2 separate regions of the Homo sapiens genome follow, and region 1 is linked to region 2. The links are contacts of gene promoters, found by promoter capture Hi-C in blood cells and fetal thymus (Javierre and others, 2016). All regions are on one chromosome and are shown on one strand. The core of a region is centred on a gene start or on the middle of the fragment in contact, and the rest is flanking DNA. Distances in the headings are between cores, read along the strand shown.

Region 1 (4,346 bases), core at 526-3,025, 1.6 Mb before region 2:
TTGAACTCCTGATCTCGTGATCCACGCCTTGGCCTCCCAAAGTGCTAGGATTACAGGCGTGAGCCACCGCACCCAGCCTTTTTTTTTTTTTGGTACATCTTCTTTCATACCTATGGGGACCCCTCATTTCTAAGCCCATAGAGACAGGGCTTTGCTGGTTCCGAACTCCTGGCCTCAAGCAATCCTCCCGCCTCAGCCTCCCAAAGTGCTGGAATTACAAGGGTGAGCCACTGCACCCAGCGCATGTAAATCTATTTTGTATCAGTGCAGGATATAAATAAAACTACAGTACACTTAGACAATATTCATTTGCCTCTGAAACCGGCAGAATAAAAATAAACACAGTTCAAGAATTCATGCTTAGAAAATATAAATCTACTTTAGTAGAACATCTTTAGTTATTTTTCTGTTTTTAAAAAACTTTTTTTTTTTTTTGAGATGGGGGTCTATGTTGATCAGGCTGGTCTTGAACTCCTGGCCTCAAGTGATCCTCCTATCTCAGCCTCCCAGCATGCTAGGATTGCAGGCGTTGAGCCACTGCACTGGGCCATCTTTAGTTATTTTTAAACCACATGTATGTACTATTTTGACAAAAATTATACCTAAAAATATATATATTGAAGAAGAACACAAACCTTCTCCTGGACCTCCACCACCACCACCCTTTGGAGTAATGAGTTCTCGACGAAGCTTAGCAAGACGAGCCTTAAGCAGCCCTAAGTGGTGTGCTGTGGCCTTGTTCTTTTGAGTCCGAGCCATCTAAAAGGGAGGAATCACAGCCATAAATTAGAAGCAGTGAACGCTTCCCCCAGCTTTGAGAGGATAATTTTTTTCCCCAAGTCCTACTAATGTTAGCACACCCAGTTTACAGGCTTTAAAAGAGTAAAAGTCCATTATCTCCTCCATCCAGCTCATTTCCCTCACTACAAAGCAAAGCAAAGCCCAAAGAGGAAAGACGATTAAGGTCATTCCAATTAGTGCCCCCAGACTAGACTGAAACCCGTCTGCGGGTTCCTTTTCTACTATTTGCAGCTGTTTGGATCCATCTAACACTGGGACACCACTTTCCTAATTGTAAAGCGCTCTCAGGGCCGCACGCAATGGAATCACACACTATCCAGGCGGAATAAACTGCTCCCACACAGATGTCATTTTACTTCCAGATCCGATTACCGGGAGCAAATACTCTGAATCAGGGGGTCATTAGGGTAGACACTGGGAAAAGGGGGAATAAGGGGGACGCAGCGAAGGATGATGAGGAAAGATCCTGAACTATCTGACCAAGTCAGAGATGGAATAAGGGACAGGATTCAGTGTTTCTCAGAGCAAAACGGAAAGAAACAACATCAGAACAGGAGCCAAACACTGGGAGGGGGAACGGACTAAGGGCCTAAGGTGCAGGGGTGCGGAACGCGGGCCCGGGCAAAGGGGAGTCCGAGAGCGTAGACGCGGGACGAGGGGAAAGGGGGCCCTGACTGAGGAGAGTCGGGGACTCCTAATCGTGGCAGAGGGCAGTCGGAACACGGGCCTCGCTGAGAGAAGTCGCGGAATCTAGGCCCGGTCCTGACGCGGCTCAAAGGAGAACAGGAAGGAGCGACGCCACCAAAGAAGGAATGCTCAGACTAAGAGTGAACCGCCAGCTGCGTCCATTACCTCTGCTTCTATCTCCGCGATCTTAGCTAAGGTGCTGCTCATCGTGGCGAGTACCCTGTGGCCTCCACACTGTCTCCCTTCACACACCCGCGGGCAAACTGCCACCGCCACCAGGCGCTACTGCAGCACGCAGGCGCGGTACTTCGAATTACCGCGAGAGAGTTCCGCGTAGGGGTCACCGCGAGTCGCAAAGCGTGGGGCTGTCTCCTCCCCCTCACCCGACCCCGCCCCGTCCCGCGAGCCAGTGCGGTGTCATAGAGCCCGCGGGAGCGGAGGCCAGAGAGGCCACCCCTGTCTGGGCCTCCCCGAGCGCGCCGAGGGTCGCGCGCAGCTCGGCCCCGCCCAGCGGGACCCGCTCCCAGCTGCTCTGCATGGTACTGAACGCTTCAGTGCTGGAGACCCCAGGGCGTGGTGCAAAGCCGACTCATGCTCCGCACCCCTGTTCCTCGCCAGCATCTGCGGGTCCTGGGTCCCTTTTTCACAGCTGGGGTGACACCCCGACGCCCTCCATGGTCTTGGAGGGAGTAGAGACCCATCTTCAGCCTGCCTCACCCCCTTGGATAAAGAAAATGCCCCCTTTCTATCATTCAAAATTATTTTTAGGTCGGTTTTGTTTACTCCGAACCCCGAGTAGAGCACATGGGGAGCCCAAAATAAGTGCATACTTGAATGGATAATTCCCAGAGAACTGCTGCTTGCAACATAGTTTGTAATACCAAAAAATTGAAATCTATATTAACACCCATCAGTAGGAAAATGGATAAATGAATAATGCCTCTATCCTGTTTTTGAAATATGATTACAGCCGTTAAAACGTAGATCTGTGGTCTGACTGGCTACCCAGGACATGTTAAATGGGAAAACAACTAGCAGAAGGGCACCTACGTAGTGATACCATTTATGTTATTTTTAAAATTAAATGTACATTTATATAGGTGTACGTGTATGAACGTGCAGTTTAAAGGCCTAAACAGAAAAATACATCAGAAGCTCTTAACTGTGGGATGGGATGCAAAGAAAAGGCCTTTCACATTTTATTCCACAGAATTTTGAAGTTAAATTTTTACAAGACGAATGTATCCATGTATTACTTGTGTAATAATAAAATTTAAAATTTCAAAAGACTCCTCTTCCCCAAGTGTCATGAGGAAGCCAGGACGTCCAGGAACTATGTGGTGGTTTTGAAAGCGGTTTGCCTCAGGATCAATGGGTTGTTTTGATAGATTGATTATTCCAGCGGGAGTCGACAGGCCAGGCTTAACCCACAGTCGACAGGCCAGGCTTAACCCACAGGGCTGGCCTCCACCCAGCCCTGGGAGGGAAGTTTAATTTAGTTAAATTTGTAAACAAGAACTATTCTAACTTCCCAGAGACAAAAAAGGGAGGTTTTCTTGTGCATAAAGAGGGAGAAACAGAAGGGAAAGCTTTTACAGAAGGTCCCCAAAGGGCCAAAGAGAGTTTCTTCTTTCTTTTCTTTAACCTCAGCCTTTTTCATAAATAAATTAAGGGATGATGAGGTAATTAGATCCCACACTATTAGCAATGGAGGAGGGAAGATGAGGAGGTCCAGCTGGAATGGGACATGATCAAAGATCAATCTTAAAAGACAGATAAAATCAAATCAGCAGGCCTATCCTAACTTGAAGTACTTAAGGAATTAATTGGCTGACAATATCAAGGGCATCACTGCTCTGTGAGTAGGTGCTCCTTAGCAAATCTATTATATGAGGCCTGCAGATAAGTTAACACTTACTGCTCAAAGACACCCTGGGACCCACCTTGGGGCCCTGAACTGTCAATAGGCACCAAAGAGTAATACTCATTTTCCCGAGTCCTGGGTGGCCATCCTGTTCATGCAATCGTTATTTACAGAGCTCCAACTGCTGCCTGGCACTGTGACAACACTGGGGACAGAGTAGAGAGTGAATCAGATATGTTCCTGCACATAACAAGTATTTAGGCCGGGCGCGGTGGCTCATGCCTGTAATCCCAGCACTTTGGGAGGCCGAGGTGGGTGGCAGATCACGAGGTCAGGAGATCGAGACCATCCTGGCTAATACGGTGAAACCCGGTGTCTACTAAAAATACAAAAAATTAGCCAGGCATGATGGCATGCACCTGTAGTCCCAGCTACTCAGGAAGCTGAGGCAGGAAAATCCCTTGAACCCGGGAGGCGGAGGTTGCAGTGAACCAAGAATGTGCCACTGCACTCCAGCCTGGCGACAGAGGGAGACTCAGTCTCAAAAAAAAAAAGTATCCAGGCTGGGGCTGGGCACAGTGGCTCACCCCTGTAATCCCAGCACTTTGGGAGGCCGAGGCAGGTGGATCACCTGAGGTCAGGAGTTCGAGACCAGCCTGGCCAGCATGGTGAAACCCCGTCTCTATTAAAAATACTAAAATTAGCCGGGCGTGGTGGCGGGCGCCTGTAATCCCAGCTACTCAGGAGGCTGAGCAGGAGAATCGCTTGAACCCGGGAGGCAGAGGTTGTAGTGAGCCGAGATCATGCCATTGCACTACAGCCTGGAGCCAGGACGACAAGAGCGAGACTCTATCTCAAGGAAGAAAAAAAAAGAAGTATCCAGGCTGGGAGGCCAAGGCCAGGACCTTAGGTTCAGCTCCTAAGAGCCATAGCTACCCCATGTCTGTTAAGTACCAACTGCAGCAAGGAGAGCCCATTTGGTCATATGAATAAA
Region 2 (4,690 bases), core at 1,495-3,994:
CCTTCTGGCCTGGATGGGGGCCTCCAAGGAACTACTTGTTCTCATACTTGTGCTTGATGTGTTTCCACAGCTTCTGCATTTTAAAGACAAGAGCCACAAACTTTGACCTTTGCCTCTCACATTTTACAACTACTCCCACTGCCCTGGTCTCTAAAATGAGCTTGGGGGAAACACATGCCATGTCCTGATTAAAAAGATACACTTGTGGTGGGCAAACTCGAAGCAATCCTATGCTTGATGCACATTTTTTTTTTGAGACGGAGACTCGCTCTATCGCCCAGGCTGGAGTGTAGTGGCGCAATCTCGGCTCACTGCAACCTCAGCCTCTTGGGTTCGAGCGATTCTCCTGCCTCAGCTTCAAGAGCAGCTGGGAATACAGGTATGCGCTACCCGGCTAATTTTTGTATTTTTAGTAGAGATGGGGTTTCGCCATGTTGGCCAAGCTGGTCTCAAACTCCTGACCTCAAGTGATCTGCCTGCCTTGGCCTCCCAAAGCGCTGGGATGACAGGTGTGAGCCACCGCGCCGAGCCTTCATGCATAATTCTTGGCATTTATAAAATACTATGATGCTTTCAATCACCAGGTGAAGTAAGTGGAAAGGGGTGATCTTAATTTCACAGGAAATTCAGTTTGAGATTGAGGGAAGTGCCCCAAAACACACAATTATTAAGGAAAACAGCCTGGAAGATGTCTCAGTTCTTCAACTCCCAGGTATTACTGAAGAGATTATAAGTGCGTAGTCCCAAAATATTTCACCATGAGCCATTTAAGACATTTCCTGGGACCTAAATTGGCTGAAATTCTCATTCCCAGAAGCACAAGAGGTTGAGCACAGTGGCTCACGCCTGTAATCCCAGTACTTTAGAAGGCTAAGGCAGGAGGACTGCCTGAGCTCAGGAATTCAAGACCAGCCTGGGCAACATGGTGAAACCCCATCTCTACAAAAAATACAAAAATTAGCTGGGCGTGGTGGCGCATGCCTGTGGTCCCAGCTACTCAGGAGGCTGAGGTGGGAAGATCACTTGAACCCAGGAGGTCAAGGCTGCAGTGAGCTGTGATCATGCCACTGCACTCCAACCTGGGCGACAGAGTGAGATCCTGTCTCAAAAAAACAAAACAAAACAAAAAAAAGCACAAGGAAAATGGGTGAGTTATAACAACATACTTGGATGTCTCTCCAGATCAATGGGAGTGGTTAACAGAACCACTTGCAAGAGATGGGACAGTAGCAATGCTTTCATATGGGGCAGGAAGTTGCACTGGTCACAGGCAGCATAGCACTAGTGGACAGTGCCTTCCCGGGCTGCAGAGTCAGACAGTCTCAAATTAAAAACACAAGTGAGTGGTGGAACAGGGCTATATGTATAAGGCCTACTCCAGCACAGTCATAATTTAGCGATATAAAGCATGCACTGCACCTAGCACAGTGCATGATACATAAAAGTCAAAAATGTGTTGCGATTCCTACCTCATGCTTCCACTTTCTCCTGAGGAATGTAAGCAATGATTATTTTTCAGTGGTACCACCTACCAGGCATGTGGCACCCTGCCTGCATCTCATGTAATCCTCACAATCGTGCTCAGGTTACTATTAATATCTCCATCTCACAGTTAAAACGGAGTTCAGAGAAGAAACTTGCTCAACTTAATGCCACAGTTAAGTGACAAGGACCAGTGTTCCTATCCAAGGCTTTCTGATTTCATAGCCCCCACTCTCAACCATTAATACCAACTGTCTACGTGGGAAGCCTTGGGGACCAGAAGCGCCGTCTGAAACTTCAGCCACGGCGTCTAAGGTGTCTAACGTCCTTTTCACGACCGTCGCCTGCTCAAATCTGCCCTTGAAACTCTGAGAGACAGGGGTCCCGTTTCTGGCCCTGACTTGCCCCTGGCTTCCTGTGCAGCTAGTAAGTCCTTTGCTCTCACTAGCCTTTAGTTTTTGCTTCTGATAATGGGCAAGTGGGTATGTAGGGTGGCACACAGCAATACTTACAACCCCTGCAAAATGAAATATATTAACCTCGCTTAACGTTTTAGAATTCACATCAAGCCAAGGGGACAGACGGCGGACTCGAGACAGAAGACGCCGACGGTTTACCCCTTACCCCCTTCCTGGTAAAAGTATACTGAGTCCCATCCCACCTCTACTCCACTGTCACCCCTCAGGCGGGTCCAAGGTCAGGGATGGCACAGGCCCTCACCCCCTCGTTGATGTGGTCGTAGATAGCGTCCGCGCCTTGATCGAAGGCGCGCTCGAAGAACATGACGCCCACGATGATGGTGAGGGCGAAGGTGGAGGTCCTGCGGAACAGCAGGGAGTACAATTTCGAAGTCAACGTCGCGGCCGCCATGTTTCTTCACAGTCCAACTCGCGCCACCGCGCCTGCGCTGGGGCCGACCTCGTTCCCCAAAGGCCCTAGACGTGCAACACTTTATGGGATTTGTAGTTCCTCTGAATCTCAGCCTTCGTGTTTTGAACCACAGAGGTATTCCTATCCTGGGAATGAGGAAAAAAACTCAAAAGGTTCATATCAGGACAGCCCAGATAATCTGATAAGATTTATTACCCAATTTTTCTTCTCCAGAATTCCTGGCTGTTAGAATATGTCAAACTACAACTCCCAGAAGCCCTCGCGCGCCATCACCTTCTCCCCGCCCTCCGCCCAGTCCCGGCTTAGATTCCCAAAGCTCTCTGGGAAGGGCGAACTGATGGCCAAGGCGAGACTACGAATCCCAGCAAGCAGTACGCGACGCGAGGACGCAGGAGGAGGAGCCCGGAGCTGCAGCCACCGGGGAGCCAGGTACCTTCCGCGAGACGTCGAGGGGCGAGTCCTAGTCTCTTTTCTCCGCACTGGAAGACTTGAACACTTCCTTCTCTGTGCGTACGCCCTGCGGCGGGACGCACCATTTCTTGGGATAGGGTGTGGATAGAGGGGCGAGGGCAGCTGGGTTCCCGAGACCCTGGCTCAACTCTTCGCCTTGTCCCCTGCACCAGCCCCAAGTCTAGGCCAGGAGCTGGAGCCTGCGGCAAAAGTCTTGTCCTGGAGGTTAAACCCTTCACCCTGGATTAAGGGCAGGGACGGATCTGCCCTGCTTCCTGTTCCTCTCACCCCTGGGCTTCGCACCGGGCAACCCTGGTTTGGAAGGCTGGAGACTTGGAACCTGCTTGGGATTGAAAAGAGCAAGGGCTTTGGAGTACCTGGGGCATTCAACAGATGTTTTCCCAGCGCCTGTTCTGGTCCCTGCTCTGGGGACCCAGCAGTGAACAAAGTCCTTGCTCTCACAGAGCGCTCAATCTACGGAGTGGGCGGGTGGGGAGATGCAGTACAGCAAACAGATAGTGCTTTGGTTGACTGGAGAGGCAGTGGTGGTGACATTGCACCCTGGGTAGCTGCTCTGGGGGGTGACACTTGACTAGAGACCTGAATGAATAGTAGAGTTGAACAGGAAAACGTTGGTGCAAAGGCCTTGAGGCAGCTACAGTCCTGGGATGTTTGAGGGAAAGAAGTAGAGTGGACTGTGAAGAGGTTGACTCCGGTCAGCTCATGTCTGGCCTTGGAACCCACCTTACGGAGTCTTGTTTTCTTTGGTTTTTGTTTTTAGAGACAGGGTCTCACTGTGTTGCCCAGGCTGGTCTCCAACTCCTGGGCTCAAGCAATCTTCCTGCCTCGCCCCCCAAGGTGCGTGAGCCACCGCGTCTGGCCAAGGAGTCTTGTCTTTTTCTAGTTGCACTAGGAGGCCATTGAAGGGTTTTCAGGAGAAATGCGACAAGATTTAATGTGCACTTTAATGTCATCATCCTGGCTGGTCTATGGAGAGTGGACCGCAAGGGGGAAGTTATTGTAGTAGATCATTTGAGGGAAGATGGGTGGTTATTTATTTGAGATGGAGTCTCGGTCTGTCGTCCAGACTGGAGTGTAGTGGTGCTATCTCGGCTTACTGCAACCTCCGCCTCCCGGGTTCAAGTGATTCTCCTGCTTCAGCCTCCCGAGTGGCTGGGATTACAGGCGCCTGCCACCATGCCTGGCTAATTTTTTTTTTTAGTAGAGACAGGGTTTCACCATGTTGGCCAGGCTAGTCTCAAACTCCTGACTTCAGGTGATCCTCCCATCTTGGCCTCCCAAAGTGCTGGGATTACAGGCGTGAGCCACCATGCCCGGCCTGATGGGTGGTAATTTAGGTTAGGGTGTGGAGCAGGGCAGTGATCAGATTTGGGATGTAATTTGGGAGGGAGGGCAGACAGAGCAAGCTAGCAGATGTGTGTAGGGTGCACAGGAAAGAGGAATTGAGGAGGATATCTAAGTTTTTTTTGTTTTTTGTTTTTTGTTTTTTTTTGAGACAGAGTCTCACTCTGTGCGGCTGGAGTGCAGTGGCACAATCTTGGCTCACTGCAACCTCTGCCACCCATGTTCAAGCAATTCTCATGCCTCAGCCTACTGAATAGCTGGGATTACAAGCGGATGCCAACACGCCCAGCTCATTTTTGTATTTTTAGTAGAGACAAGGTTTCACCATGTTGGCCAGGCTGGTCTTGAACTCCTGGCCTCAAGTGATCCGCCTGCCACGGTCTCCCAAAGTGCCGGGATTACAGGTGTGAGCCACCGCGTCCAGCTGACATCTAAGTTTTGACCTCAACAATTTAAAATCAACAGAATGATCTTAAGTTCTGTTTTGGCCACATCAGTTTGA

Evidence for each region. The method cuts DNA at HindIII sites, captures the fragments that hold promoters and counts their contacts. A CHiCAGO score of 5 or more calls a contact.
Region 1: the fragment with the promoter of DRG1 here is called in contact with the fragment with the promoter of ZMAT5 in region 2 in 1 of 17 cell types (naive CD8 T cells); the score reaches 5.3 in naive CD8 T cells.

The regions. Positions count from the first base shown.
Region 1 is chr22:31,397,033-31,401,378 of GRCh38, reverse strand. DRG1 (developmentally regulated GTP binding protein 1) reads right to left here and starts at 1,775. Exons shown (of 9, transcript NM_004147.4): 1 at 1,654-1,775; 2 at 636-759. The coding sequence starts at 1,695. RefSeq lists enhancers at 1,666-1,715, 843-1,748 and a silencer at 1,836-2,115. The HindIII fragment of the contact is 2,387 bases long and covers 693-3,079 here.
Region 2 is chr22:29,765,061-29,769,750 of GRCh38, reverse strand. ZMAT5 (zinc finger matrin-type 5) reads left to right here and starts at 2,744. Exons shown (of 6, transcript NM_001003692.2): 1 at 2,744-2,879. UQCR10 (ubiquinol-cytochrome c reductase, complex III subunit X) reads right to left here and starts at 2,382. Exons shown (of 2, transcript NM_013387.4): 1 at 2,203-2,382; 2 at 1-73. The coding sequence starts at 2,352. The coding sequence ends at 32. RefSeq lists enhancers at 2,251-2,300, 2,210-2,859, 2,661-2,890, 2,860-3,509. The HindIII fragment of the contact is 8,045 bases long and covers 1-4,690 here.